Linked DNA regions of Homo sapiens: regions 1 and 2 are each linked to region 3. The links are contacts of gene promoters, found by promoter capture Hi-C in human tissues and cell types (Jung and others, 2019). All regions are on one chromosome and are shown on one strand. The core of a region is centred on a gene start or on the middle of the fragment in contact, and the rest is flanking DNA. Distances in the headings are between cores, read along the strand shown.

Region 1 (4,323 bases), core at 1,220-3,719, 330 kb after region 3:
GTGGCAGGACAGCAGAGGCAACACAAGGGGGCATCCAAGCAACAGTCTCTTGTGAAGATGCAGTTTCCCACAGGCATTTATGACAGTCACCTTGGACATATGCTCCAGGACCATTGTGACCGCCTATCAGGAGAGTCCTATACATTGGTTAACTATTATTTTCCTATCTTTTTCTCACCTAAACTGTAGAAAACACACATTGTTGGAAGGATATTTTTGTTTCTCTTGACCTAAAACGAGTAGGCGGGAGTGGGAAAAGTTCAAAGCACCCTGATTCCTTGGATGGAACTCTTGCTTCCATAAGGCTAACACAGGTAAACATCCTTTATCAGTCCCTCTCATCTCTTATGGAAAACACAATGGGGCTGTGAGCTCAAGGTCAGCAGAGGGTGTCCCGGGATCCCCTACTTGGCAGTATTCACAGATCTGAGGGCATTTCCAGTGCTAGGCTCAACACATACTCAACAGGCAATGTGGGGGTTTCAGAAACTGAATGAACTCTCTGCAAAAAGTTAAACCAAGCCCTTTGGGGCCAGCCCACAAAATGAAAGTAAAATCATCATTGTCACAAACAGTGCCCGAGATACAGAGAAACCCGCCAGACGAACACTGGCTGCCCTCGCCTGGTGACGCCCACAGGAGGCAAAGCAGCGCAAGGCAGATAGCGACAAGACTGTCAAAGAACATTCCTCAGACCTCAGAGAGGACCCTGAAAGCATCAACGCAGCGGAAAAGGCATAAAAAAGGAAGTAACTTTAACTACAAATCCATCTTCTTTGCTGTGGTGGTCGTTGCTACCAGATCTAGTGTTGTCTGAATGTTTCCCCCAGCCCTCCTGTAGGTTCCTGTAGGACTTTTTAATACTCTGAGTATATGCTACATTCCTTGAAGATATAGCTAAGTCAGCTTCATACTTGGAGGGGAAGCTTTGGCAATACTCTAACAGAGTGCAGTACATGTTGAGTTAAAGAAAAAAGGAAGAGTAAGCCATGGATCAGAAGATGGCCAAAGCACATATAAAATGCTATTAGTATCTGGCCGGGCACAGTTGTTCACGTCTGTAGTCCCAGCATTTTGGGAGGCTGACACGGGAGGATCACTTGAGGTCAGGAGTTTGGGACCAGCCTGGCCAACATGGTGAAACTTTGTCTCTACAAAAGGTACAAAAATTGGCCGGGCACAGTGGCTCAAGCCTGTAGTGCCAGCACTTTGGGAGGCTGAGGCAGGTGGATCACCTGAGGTCAGGAGTTCGAGATCAGCCTGGCCAATATGGTGAAACCCCATCTCTACTAAAAATACAAAAAAGAGCTGGGCATGGTGGCATGCACCTGTAACCCCAGCTACTTGGGAGACTGAGGCAGGAGAATCGCCTGCACCTAGGAGGCGGAGGTTGCAGTGAGCCGAGATCATGCCACTGCACTCCAGCCTGGGTGACAGAGGGAGACTCTGTCTCAAAAAAAAAAAAAAAAAAAATTAGCCAGGCATGGTGCCACGCACTACTTGGGAGTCTGAGGCAGAAGAATCACTTGAACCCAGGAGGTGGAGATTGCAGTGAGTCAAGACTGGGCAACAGAGCAAGACTCTGTCTCAAAAATAAATAAATAAAATAAATTAAAATAGTATTAGTACCTAAGACACAAAGAACACCAATTAATAAGAAAAAGATAAATAATCCAATGGGGAAATGAGCAAAGGGCAGGAAGAGAAAGTGCATAGAATAGAAAACCTGTTATACCTTAGGAATAACCAGGATTATTAATCATAACCCCAATATCTATAATAAAAAGATGTTCTATCCTATCAACAATCAGGATAATGCAAACTAAAACCACAATGAGATTCTATCTCACTTTCATAGATTGGCAAAAATTACTAAATCTAATAGCATGTCTTGGAAGGTGTGGGACAAGAGGAGCCCTTTCACACTGGTGGGAGTATCATCAACTGGGATGACTACTTGGGAACAATTTGTCAAGGGCCAATAGATCTGAAAATACACATAATCCACAACACACTTCTAAGGTTGCCCCTTGAGAAGATTACCCAAACATGCATGAGGACAGACATGTATGGATGTTCACGGCAACGTTGTTATGGAAAAACTAGAAGCGTCTTCAGTGTTCACTAGATATGAGAATTGATAAATAGACGAAGAAACTGGAGCTGTATTTACTGGATGTAATACCAGACAGCAGTCAAAATGAAAGGGCTAGATCTATGCATATCATTATTAATTGAACTGAACACCAGTGCAAATAAGGCAAAATGCCTGAAGATATACCAATGATCGTATATGTGTAAGTTTGAGAGTGCGCACACACACATACACAAACTAGTACTGTTTTGTTTTTTTTTTTTGAGACGGAGTCTCGCTGTGTCGCCCAGGCTGGAGTGCAGTGGCACGATCTTGGTTCACTGCAGCCTCTGCCTCCCAGGTTCAAGTGATTCTCCTGCCTCAGCCTCCCAAGCAACTGGGATTACAGGCACTCACCACCATACCCGGCTAATTTTTGTATTTTTAGTAGAGATGGTGGCCAGGCTGGTCTCGAACTCCTGACCTCAGGTGATCCACCCACCTCGGCCTCCCAAAGTGCTGGGATTACAGGTGTGAGCCACCATGCCCGGCCACAAACTAGTACTGTAAACTAGTACTGTATGTTTTTTATTGACAATAGTATATATGGTAACAGTAGGAAAATTTCAATTCATAATGGCAGCTGCCCTAGGGAAGGAAGGGAGAGGATGGGAAAAGGAATCAAGATGATTCCAATTTTTATATAATATTTTATTTCCTTTATAAAAATACAGAATCAAAGCTACAATGTAAAAATGTCTGTGCATTCTGGGTGATAGGTAAATAAGGATTATTTCCTATAGTACTTTCCAGTAGGTTTTAAAATACACACACAATTTTTATATATTTAATTTCCTTTATAAAAAATATCAAACCAAAACTATAATGTAAAAATGTCTGTGCATTCTGGGTGACAGGTAAATAAGGATTATTTCCCATAGTACCTTCCAGTAGGTTTTACACGCGCACACACACACACACACACACACACTTAGGTGAAACACCGTAAACGAAAAGGCAATAACAAACTAGAGCAAACATCTATACTGTATGACAGAAAAGGATGTAACTCTAATATGAAAATAACTCAAGTAACAGTCCTATATAAAAAATGGGTAAAGAATAGGCAGACAAACCACAAAATAAGTATGAATGATCAATAACTATAAAATAAAATCTTTAGCTTTCCTCATGATTTAAAAAATATTGCTGCCAGGCACAGTGGCTCACACCTGTAATTCCAACACTTTGGGAGGCCAAGGTGGGAGGATCACTTGAACCCAGGAGCTCAAGACCAGCCTAGGCAACACAGCAAGATCCCATCTCTACAAATAATAAAAAAGTTAGCTAGGTGTAGTGGGGCACGCCTGTAGTCCCAGCTACTTAGGAGGCTGAGCTAGGAGGATCACTTGTGCCTAGAGGTTGAGACTGCAGTGAGCTGAGATCACGTCTGTGCACGCCAGCCTGGGCAATAGAGTGAGACTCTGTCTCTCCAAAAACAAACAACAACAAAAAACCCTATGCTTTACCTATCAGACTAGCAAAGCTTAAAAAGAATGATAACCCCAGTGTTAGTAATGACACAGACAAACAGATACTTGTTCACACTCTGCAAGGGATAGCAGAAGCTAAAACAAGCTCTTAGGAGAGAAATTTGTATTAAATGTCAGTAGAATTTACAAAGTTCAGATATTTTCTCCCCAAAAATTCTATTTCAGGAATTTATCCTAGTTCCAGAAATCGTCATCTCAGATTTATAATAGCTTGCTAAAAATGAGCATCAAATGTCCAATTCCTATTAAATGATAACCCATATACATGTTGGAATATTATGCAGCCATAAAAAGATTGTGTTTTCAAAAAAATATTTATTGACAGGGAAAAATACTTAAAATATTTTAAAGGAAGTATATAAGTATGTGGGTTACAGTTATGAACACACTCACATATATGATGACAAAATTATGTGTACACTCATACACATAAGATGTACACCAAATTTTAAGTCATTATCTTTGAGTGTAAGAAATAGGTGATTTTCAATTACCATTTTTTCCTGCAATAATTATGCATTATTTTTATAACCTGAAACAAAGTTTAATGGAGTAGGGGAATGTGGGTGGGGGTGCATGGAAGGGATAATAGGACTTACATAGAAGGCCACAACTCTTTAGGTCTCCAAAGCTGCTCTCTTGTCCTCCCCTCAAAGTTACTGTTGCCCTCTCTTCTAGAAGGTCCCCATCCTTGAA
Region 2 (4,612 bases), core at 798-3,297, 300 kb after region 3:
TCAGGAGATGGAGACCATCCTGGCAAATGCAGTGAAACCTTGTCTCTACTAAAAATACAAAACAGTAGCTGGGCGTGGTGGCAGGCACCTGAAATCCCAGCTACTTAGGAGGCTAAGGCAGGAGAATTGCTTGAACCCAGGAGGCAGAGGTTGCAGTGGGCCGAGATCGCACCACTGTACTCCAGCATAGGCAACAGAGCGAGACTCCATCTCAAAAAAAAAAAAAAAAAAGGAAATTCTGACACATGCTACACAATGGATGAACCTTAAGGACATTATGCTAAGTGAAATAAACCAGTCATAAAAGGACAAATACTGCCACTTCATGAGGCATCTAGAGAAGTCAAATTTATAGAGACAGAAAGTAGAACGGTGGTTGCCAGGGGCTGGGAGGATACAGAAATGGGGAGTTGTTTAATGGGTACAGAGTTTATTTTTGCAAGATGAAAACGGTTCTGGTGATGGATGGTGATAACGGTTGTACAACATGAATGTGCTTATTGCCCCTGAACTGTATACTTAAAAATGGTTGAGATGGTAAATTTAATGTTTTATTTTACCACAATTTTTAAAAATAATGAAACCACTATTTTGCATAGGAGCCACAGTGATATGTCATAAAACTGTAGCAAGAACATATTCCCTCAAAAATCTTACGTAAAGAATTTGGCTGGGTGCAGTGGCTCATGCCTGTAATCCCAACACTTTGGGAGGCCGAGGCAGGTGGATCACTTGAGGTCAGGAGATCAAGACCAGCCTGGCCAACATGGTGAAACTCTGTCTCTACTAACAATACAAAAATTAGCCGGGCCTGGTGGTGCATGCCTGTAGTCCCAGCTACAAGGGAGGCTGAGGCACAAGAATCACTTGAACCTGGGAGGTGGTGGTTGTGGTGAGCCGAGACTGCGCCACTGCACTCCAGCCTGGGCAACAGAGTGAGACCCCATCTCAAAAAAAAAAAAGAATTAAATCAAGGTCTTAATGATCAAATTTAATACATCTCTGGTTGAAAAGACAGAGGCACAACACTTTACTAGGTTTGGTGAGCAAAAAGAAAACAACTTAGTAAAGAAGGATCCCCTGCACATACTACACTCATAGGCAGAAGGTGCTCCTACCTCCCCCATTCATCCTCCCTTTGGGTATCTCCTCACTGAGCCCTCCCTGGTTGCCTCTCCTATAGCTCAAGTTCATCACAGACTCCCCAGGGGCACAACCCAATTCCAAACCAGTTGGTGTTTCTAGAAAGACTCATTCTAATGCTATCCTCTTTCTCAAAACTCTGTGTTCCCACCTATATCCTATTCCCTGAATGCCCTAAAACCCATTCTCTCAACCAGACTTCTTCACAGGACTAGGTCCAAATTCCACCTAATCTGAAGCTCTAATCCACAGCACAATCTACCAGAGCCCCATATCTTCCAAAGAATTCTCTTCTACCAGCATGTTCTGGTCCTAACTCAGCTATGTATGCCCAGCCCTAAAATATTTCAGAGTGCATAAAAACTACCAGGATAGCTAGTTAAACTTGCAGATTTCCACCGCTCATCCCCAGAGATTTTCACTCAGTAGGCCTAATGTGGGGCCCTGGAATACGCACTTAAAACAAGCATACCAAGTCATTTGATGTAGCCTAGCACTAACCTAGGCTAGCCACGTGAGCCTAGGTAAGCCTGAACTAGCCTGAACTCCCAGCCAACTAATGCTTTGGATACAAACCCCATATTGTCTGTGCTAAAACTCATGAGAATAATCTGAGCTGCCCTACACCCTTCCCTCCACCGGGAGACTTCTGTGAATAATATGAATGTTCATTATATTGAACAGATTATATGTGTCTGTATCACAAGGTAGCTTAGGTTACATCTGTTTTCAAGGTTGGATCATATCTGCCCTGACTGATGACCTCACAGTTATGAGACTCTTTTAAAAATGGCAATTTCCTGAGGAAACAGTACTCTTCAGAGGCATGCTGCAGCCTGATGCAGTAACTAAAGGATTCCCTGCCTTACACCTAGTTTCAACTGACCTTTTAAAAGAAAAAGAAAAAAAAAGAAGAAAAAATGCTTTAAATGTATCCAATAATTTTGCACCTCTAACTTTCCACTGAACCTTTTAGAAAGTTATTATGAGCTTGAGGTCTGAGGGGCCTAAGAAGTGCCCAAACCACATTTGATGTCATTTCCCTGCAAAGGAAATGTGACACCTACGCCGAACTGCCAAGGTATTTTAGCTTATATACAGGGATAGATAAGCTTCTTAAAAATTACATTTCCAGTCTAATTATTTTGCAATTTCAAATTTATCACTGTCTGACATTATCCATGCCTATACAAATGGCTTAAAAAGAAAAATGGAGCCTAACAGGATATTTAGAACTGCCTGGAAGTTTAAAAAGTATGAATTTTAAATTCTGAGCAAATCAATATTCTGTTTTCCACATTAAACATATGGAAATTAATATGGACATGTCAACTATATTTGGTTGTAAGTGACTCATTTCAATACCTGGCATGTCTGAGGACTAATGCGAGAGCAATCTGGTAAGAGAAAAAAAGGTCATATGGATAATGCAATGAAATGGAAAGATCACTGGACTCTGGACCAGCCGTATTCCAAGGCTAGCTCTACCATGGCTTGGCTGTATGATCTGACTTTGTGGCCAAGGGCAATTATGAGACTGTTTTCAACAATGACAGGATACCTATCAACCTATGACCTCACAGAGACACTGGGAAGACAATATACATGAAATGACTTTTAAGCTGTGTTTCTTCAAAACGATACATTCCAAATTACCCTAGACTGTGTTCTTTTTGCAGTGCTAGTACGTGGTCTATACTGGAAAGTTCCTTTCATTTACTCAGTTGATTCACTGAGGAGCTGCTCTGCACAAGGCTCTATGTTAGGTACTGAGGAGGACTAGAGAAGAAAATGTTAAGGTGTAAACTGGTTGGAGAAACAAAGTACAGCCATGTGCCATGTAACAATGCTTTGGTCAACGACAGACTACACATATGATGGTGGTCCTATAAGCTTATAATACCGTATATTTACTGTACCTTTTCTTGTTTATGTATGTATACATACACAAATCTTTACCATTGTGTTGCAACTGCCTACAGTATTCAGTACAGTAACCTGCTGTACAGGTTTGTAGCCTAGGAACAACTGGCTATTCCATATAGCCTAGGTGTGTAGTAGGCTGTACCATCTAGGTTTGTGTAATTATACTCTGATGTTTGTACAAAGAAGTTGCCTAACATATTTCTAACATATTTCTCAGAATGTATCTCTGTCAGTAAGAGTCACATAACGGTGTACATAATGATTTCATTTCTAAGTGACAAAATGAGTGGTTCAAACAGTACTATGGATTGACCATTCTAGCTTTCCATCCTCTTGTCCATGAGAAAGTAAATGCACTGTAAACTGATCCTAAGAGACAGAATACATAAATCATGTAAACATTTGGTGTCTAACCCTGTTACAATAATTTTTCATTTTTGGCTTTAAAAACTGTTACCAGAACTCAGTGAAGGAAAAGACATGGAAAGAAAACATTTCTCAAAGAAGGTACCTATGAGGTACACTAAGTACTTCATCTAAACTCTCTTTGGGCCAGGCATGGTGGCTCATGCCAGTAATTCCAGCACTTTGGGAGGCCAGGGTGCATGGATCACTTAAGACGAGGAGTTCAAGTTTCAGCAACATGGCGAAACTGAAAAACAGAAAAAATCAGCCAGACATGGTGATGTGCACCTGTAGTCCCAGATGCTTTGGGGGCTGAGGTGAGAGGATCACTTGAGCCTGGGAGGCTGAGGCTGCAGTGAGCTGAGCTCACACCACTGCACTCCAGCCTGGGTGACAAGTGAGACCCTGTCTCACAAAAATAATAAAAAAAAAAAAAAACTCTCTTTCAAACCTTACAATAATCCTGTGAAGTATCAACATTCCCATTTTACAGACTGAAACACCAATTCAGAAGGATTAAGTACTATGCCCAGGACACAAAACAAGTAGTCAAGTTAAGATATGAATCCATATCCATTCTGACTAACAAAACCTGAGATCTCTTGGCTCTACCATGGATGTGACCAGTATGTAAAGAGAACAGAGAGGAAGAAGGCATTCTGGGTAGAAGGATCAAAATAACACCCAAGTTTGAAGCTAGAAGGGGATGAGCCAAGTTTTGCAGAAGTGGGGAAAAGGCTCTGGGCAGTTACGGGAAATAAATTAGGCGACAGATTATAAAAAGGCTAGAATATACAGATGGCTAAGAAATGCAAGTTTGATCCTATAGGTCAGTAAGATGGAACTGGAAATTGTAAGCAGGAAAGTAGAGGATAAAACCAGAGCATTAGAAAGGTGAAATTCAACAAGGCAGAGATGGGCTGGAGAAAAAGCATGGCATAATGCAGACAGAATTATTATTTAAAATCCGAAGTAGGACAGGTGTGGTGGTGTGCATCTGTAGTCCTAGCTCCTCGAGAGGCTGAGGTGGGAGGCTCGCTTGAGACTAGGAGTTAGAGGCTGCAGTGAGCTATGATCAAACCACTGTACTCCAGCCTGGGCAACAGAATGAGACCCCATCTCTTTAAAGACAAAACGA
Region 3 (4,054 bases), core at 312-2,811:
AAATGTGTTTCTCTGAGTTCTATGAACCACTTTAGCAAATTAGCTGAACCCAAAGAGGGTGTCGTGGGAACTCAACTTGAAGCCAGTCATTCCAAAATTCTGGAGGCCTAGACTTACAACTGGTGTTTAAAGGTGAGGAGGCAGTCTTGGGGACTGAGCCCTCCACTTGTGGGATCTGATACTCCAGGTAGATAGTGTCGGAATTGAATTGGAGGACACCCAGGTGCGGTCCACTGCTCAGTGTGTGGGGAAAACCCCACACACATCTGGTCACCAAATTATTCTCCTGTGTTGATGATTGCTGTTGTGTAAGAGTAGAGGAAAAATACGGTTTGAGGGAGGTTTTTTTTTCCCCACACAGTTTCAAACAAGGATATTGGACCAGATGACCAACATTAAAATCTCTCTCATCCTTAATATTGCATGAAGCTGTTCAGACAGTGGTTGGAGCAATGATTTCTCTTAGACCACTACATTGATTACTTTTCTCTTTGTCATCTTCTCACTCCCCCCGTTTTCTTTCTGTTCTCCTTTCTGTTAACAAGAGTGGAAATCACTTCTATTCATGTACCTCCTCCCAACCCCACCCCCAAACTGACTACTCCATCCATCCAACTCACTGTTTTAGCTACATCTAATTTATAAAATTAGATGGCTAATGAGATGTCATAGCCTAAAATCGACTAAGAAATTGATTTTCTTTCTGTATTATTGTACCCAGACAACACCCTGCTTCCTCAGTTTAGAATGTTGGGCCACCACGGTTCCTGACTGGATACCACGAGCTAGGTCCTACAAGGGAGAGAGCTGTTTCTGGCTTAAATGATGAGAACTAGGGCAGAGAGTAAAGGATAGCCAGCCACAGCTAAGGAATGCAGTCAGTTAGAAGCCAAAGTCCCCGTGTAGTGTTCCTCTTTTCTACTGTGCCCATAGCGGACACTGATTGAATGCATTTTGTTCTATCGTATTCAGTTCCACAGTGCTTTGCAACACCCATCTTATAAATAGAAGTTGGGCTGAGGATGGGGCCAAAGTTAGGGGTGGTAGTTCATAAACACGTAGTTTTTGAGCACTAATTTTAAGTAAGACCCTGATATTAAGAAATAAGGGGGATTAAAAGATGGGAAATTAGGCCCACCAATACATGTTTTTCTATTTCCCAATATATCAAAATATTATCATTTTAACATGCAATCACTAAAAATTAATGAGCTAGTTAACATTCTTCGGACTCTTTGGTACCTAGGTGTATTTCACACTTACAGCACGTGCACGATTCAACTCGAACTAGCTACCTTTGGAGTGCTCCTTAGCCACACAAGAACAGCGTTGTTGTCAAGATGCCAGACCTTTGATTTGTGGCCCTCCGGGGTTGCAGGCGTTAACCTGGGGCCAGCATGGGTCGCGGGTGGGACAGTCGGTCCGGGGACTGGGCGGTGGGAGCACTTAAACCCCGCCCTGCGGAGTCGCCGGGAGTTGTAGTCGGAGCCCCGGGAGTCCGATGGGAGTTGCAGGCCTCAGCCCCGGGGAGCACGCCGGGAGTTGTAGTCCGCCCCCGCCACCCTCTTGGTGTGCGCGTCATGGCCGTCAGCACCGCGTTCCCGTCCTCTTCCGCTTGGCCCCAGAAAGTTTCGGTTCTGCCCGGCGGTGGACCCACGAGCGCGTAAGTGCCGCGGAAGACCGGCTGGACTCTGGGGGCACCTGGGTCGCTCACGATCCCTGAGGCGAGAGCTTCGCTCGGGGCGCGGCTTGTCACCTGTTGCCCTTACAGTCCCCGCCCATCCCAGGTCTCCCTCAGACCCTGCCCGAGCGCCCCCGTCCTTGCCCAGCGGGCCGGGAAGCACCTCGGGCAGGTGGAAGCCGGCCCAGGCACCCAGCCTGCCTCTGTTGGTCGGTTAGAAAGACAGACCCCAAACACCAGTTCCAAGACCCCGGAGGGCGGAGGGCCCGCAAAGGAAAGGAGCCCACCATGCGGCGTCTCAGAACAAGCCTGAATGTCTTAGCGCAGGATGGGGCAGGCCCCGGAGTTCCTGCCTGCGTGGTCTTTAGGAAGTTTAGTCTCTGGCCCAGTTGGGCCGGGACAGCCCAGACCTTCACTTTGCAAGACTCCGCTGGTGCTCGGATCTCTGCCCTCTTCCCAGGAGGGGAAGAAGCTTCTTTCTTCCTGGCCCATCCTTTGGCCAAGACCTATTCACTATCCACTGCCCCTTGTGCCCATGCGCAGGGTCTCGAGCTAGCCCCCAGGGGTCTTTTCCCGAAACACCTGTTGTCTCTGGTGTGGCGGCACTGCACTGGACTGGAGTCCGTGCTGTTGAAACCTGGCGGGGGTGGGGCGGGGAGGGGGGAGGATGGCGGGATTTTATTTTTTGTAAGAAAAGCACATGTGGTTGACACGTTAACCGCGTGGCCCCCTGTTAAAGCACATGTATTCTCTGATGTCCCTGTCACTCTTCACTGTTCCCATTGGGTGTCCTCTCCAGAAAAAAAAATAGAACACTTGTTGAAACTGCCTGTGTTGGCCAGAGCCTCTCAGCCCCTCTGCTTGTCTTACCACAGCAGTTTCCTTTCCCGACAGAGAAATGGGTCAGGGGCTTTTGCGGGGCAGAGGATCCAGGGCTTAATCTGCTCACTGGTTCTCCTGCCCGTGCAGGCCTTGTGGTCTCAGGCTGCAAGCTTAATTCCCCTGCCATCTGCCTAATGCGGCTGGAGGGTGTTGGGGGCTGGTGTGGGGGAGGGGTGGGGAGCTGGAGCTATCATGCCAAGGTTTTCTGCTTTCAGTAGTTCCCACCTTCTGAAGTGGACCCCTGTTGAGTGAGCTCCACTTGACCCTCCCTTCTGTGACAACCACTGTTCTGAAAGCATTGAATGCCCCATACTAGTTGTGCACCGTGGTTATTATCACCCTGAAAATAAGAGCTAATTGTCACAGTGATGGATCTCAGCCTCCTTTGATTAATAGGATCTCTCCTAAAGGCTCTTGCTTTAGGAAATAGAGTTTATCTGTTTATGTTCAAAGTGACTATCTTTGTGTAGCACTTCATTTACTTTTTAAATTGTTTTTAATATTTTATTAGAAAAATAAACATACAGAATCACTGAAAGGATTGTATGGTGAATATCCGTATACTCAATTCTTAATATTTTACTTTGATTTTTTTTTTTTTTTGCAGTTACTTTAGAGATTGGTAACAGTCTCAGGCAGTGATCCTTTAGCTGTTGTTCCGATGACCTTTGCCCCTTGGGGCTGGGTTTGGAGCACCAGTATAATTTCAGGAGCCAAGTTTTTAACCTGGTCCTTTTTGAGGGGGATGGCCCCCATAGATGTTTGTGATGAGAGGAATCACCCATAACAGAGCAAGATCAGAGCAGCTGGTAGCTTTGACCCATATTGGTCACCAAGGCTATGGACTGCTGACTCAAGAATACAAAGTAGGTACGCAAGAAATGGCAGCCCCCTCACCCCCACCCACCCTGCTTCCCTTTAGGGGAGATGTTTAGCTGATAGGTAACTTTTGTTTACTGAAGATTCCAAAGACACAGCTTTGGTGACTCAAGACTAGAATGTCTTTAAACATGAGGCAGAGGAAGTGTGTTGTCTAGCTGTGGTCTTATGGTGGAAATCACTGGTAGGCACCTAGATTTAGGAACCACGTTCACTGCAAGCAGCCCTAGGCAGCAGGTAAGGGTCATTAACTGGTGCCTGTGATTACAGAGGCAACTTGTGAGCACAGATGAGTCCATTATGGTCAGGGCAACATCTGCTCACGTCATGACTGCTATGTTCTTGTCTTAGTCAAAAGATAAACAGTATTTTGTTTGTGAGCTCAATGCCAGTTTCAAGAAAATAAGAAGTCTTTATTGGTATAAGAGCCTCTATCTGAGCAATTAAATAAATCAATAGGGTGGGAATTGGAATGTTTCTGTGGTTCTACCTATGGAAATGCTGTTTACCTTCTTGCTGTTCGTTGATACATCACAAAAATGGCTGAAATGTCTGTACTACCCCCATAATAAGAGCCATTGCCTTGGAGCAAATGGGCCCCATGGCTTTGAG

What was found. Contacts are between HindIII fragments. The study calls those that stand out against the background at their distance.
Region 1: a fragment that was not itself captured here is called in contact with the fragment with the promoter of FYCO1 in region 3 in 1 of the 25 tissues and cell types used here (bladder).
Region 2: a fragment that was not itself captured here is called in contact with the fragment with the promoter of FYCO1 in region 3 in 1 of the 25 tissues and cell types used here (dorsolateral prefrontal cortex).

The regions. Positions count from the first base shown.
Region 1 is chr3:45,661,019-45,665,341 of GRCh38, reverse strand. The region is part of intron 2 of LIMD1 (LIM domain containing 1); the gene reads right to left. Among named protein-coding and RNA genes, the nearest start is that of LIMD1-AS1, 26 kb to the left of the region's middle. The HindIII fragment of the contact is 5,401 bases long and covers 1-4,323 here.
Region 2 is chr3:45,691,617-45,696,228 of GRCh38, reverse strand. All of the region lies in intron 1 of SACM1L (SAC1 like phosphatidylinositide phosphatase), which reads right to left. Among named protein-coding and RNA genes, the nearest start is that of SACM1L, 4.5 kb to the right of the region's middle. RefSeq lists an enhancer at 1,945-2,084. The HindIII fragment of the contact is 4,754 bases long and covers 1-4,424 here.
Region 3 is chr3:45,993,331-45,997,384 of GRCh38, reverse strand. It overlaps FYCO1 (FYVE and coiled-coil domain autophagy adaptor 1), which reads left to right and starts at 1,561. Exons shown (of 18, transcript NM_024513.4): 1 at 1,561-1,663. LOC105377063 (a long non-coding RNA gene) reads right to left here and starts at 1,482. Exons shown (of 3, transcript XR_940799.3): 1 at 1,296-1,482. RefSeq lists enhancers at 1,533-1,692, 1,713-1,762, 1,263-1,762, 3,808-4,054. The HindIII fragment of the contact is 4,281 bases long and covers 1-2,413 here.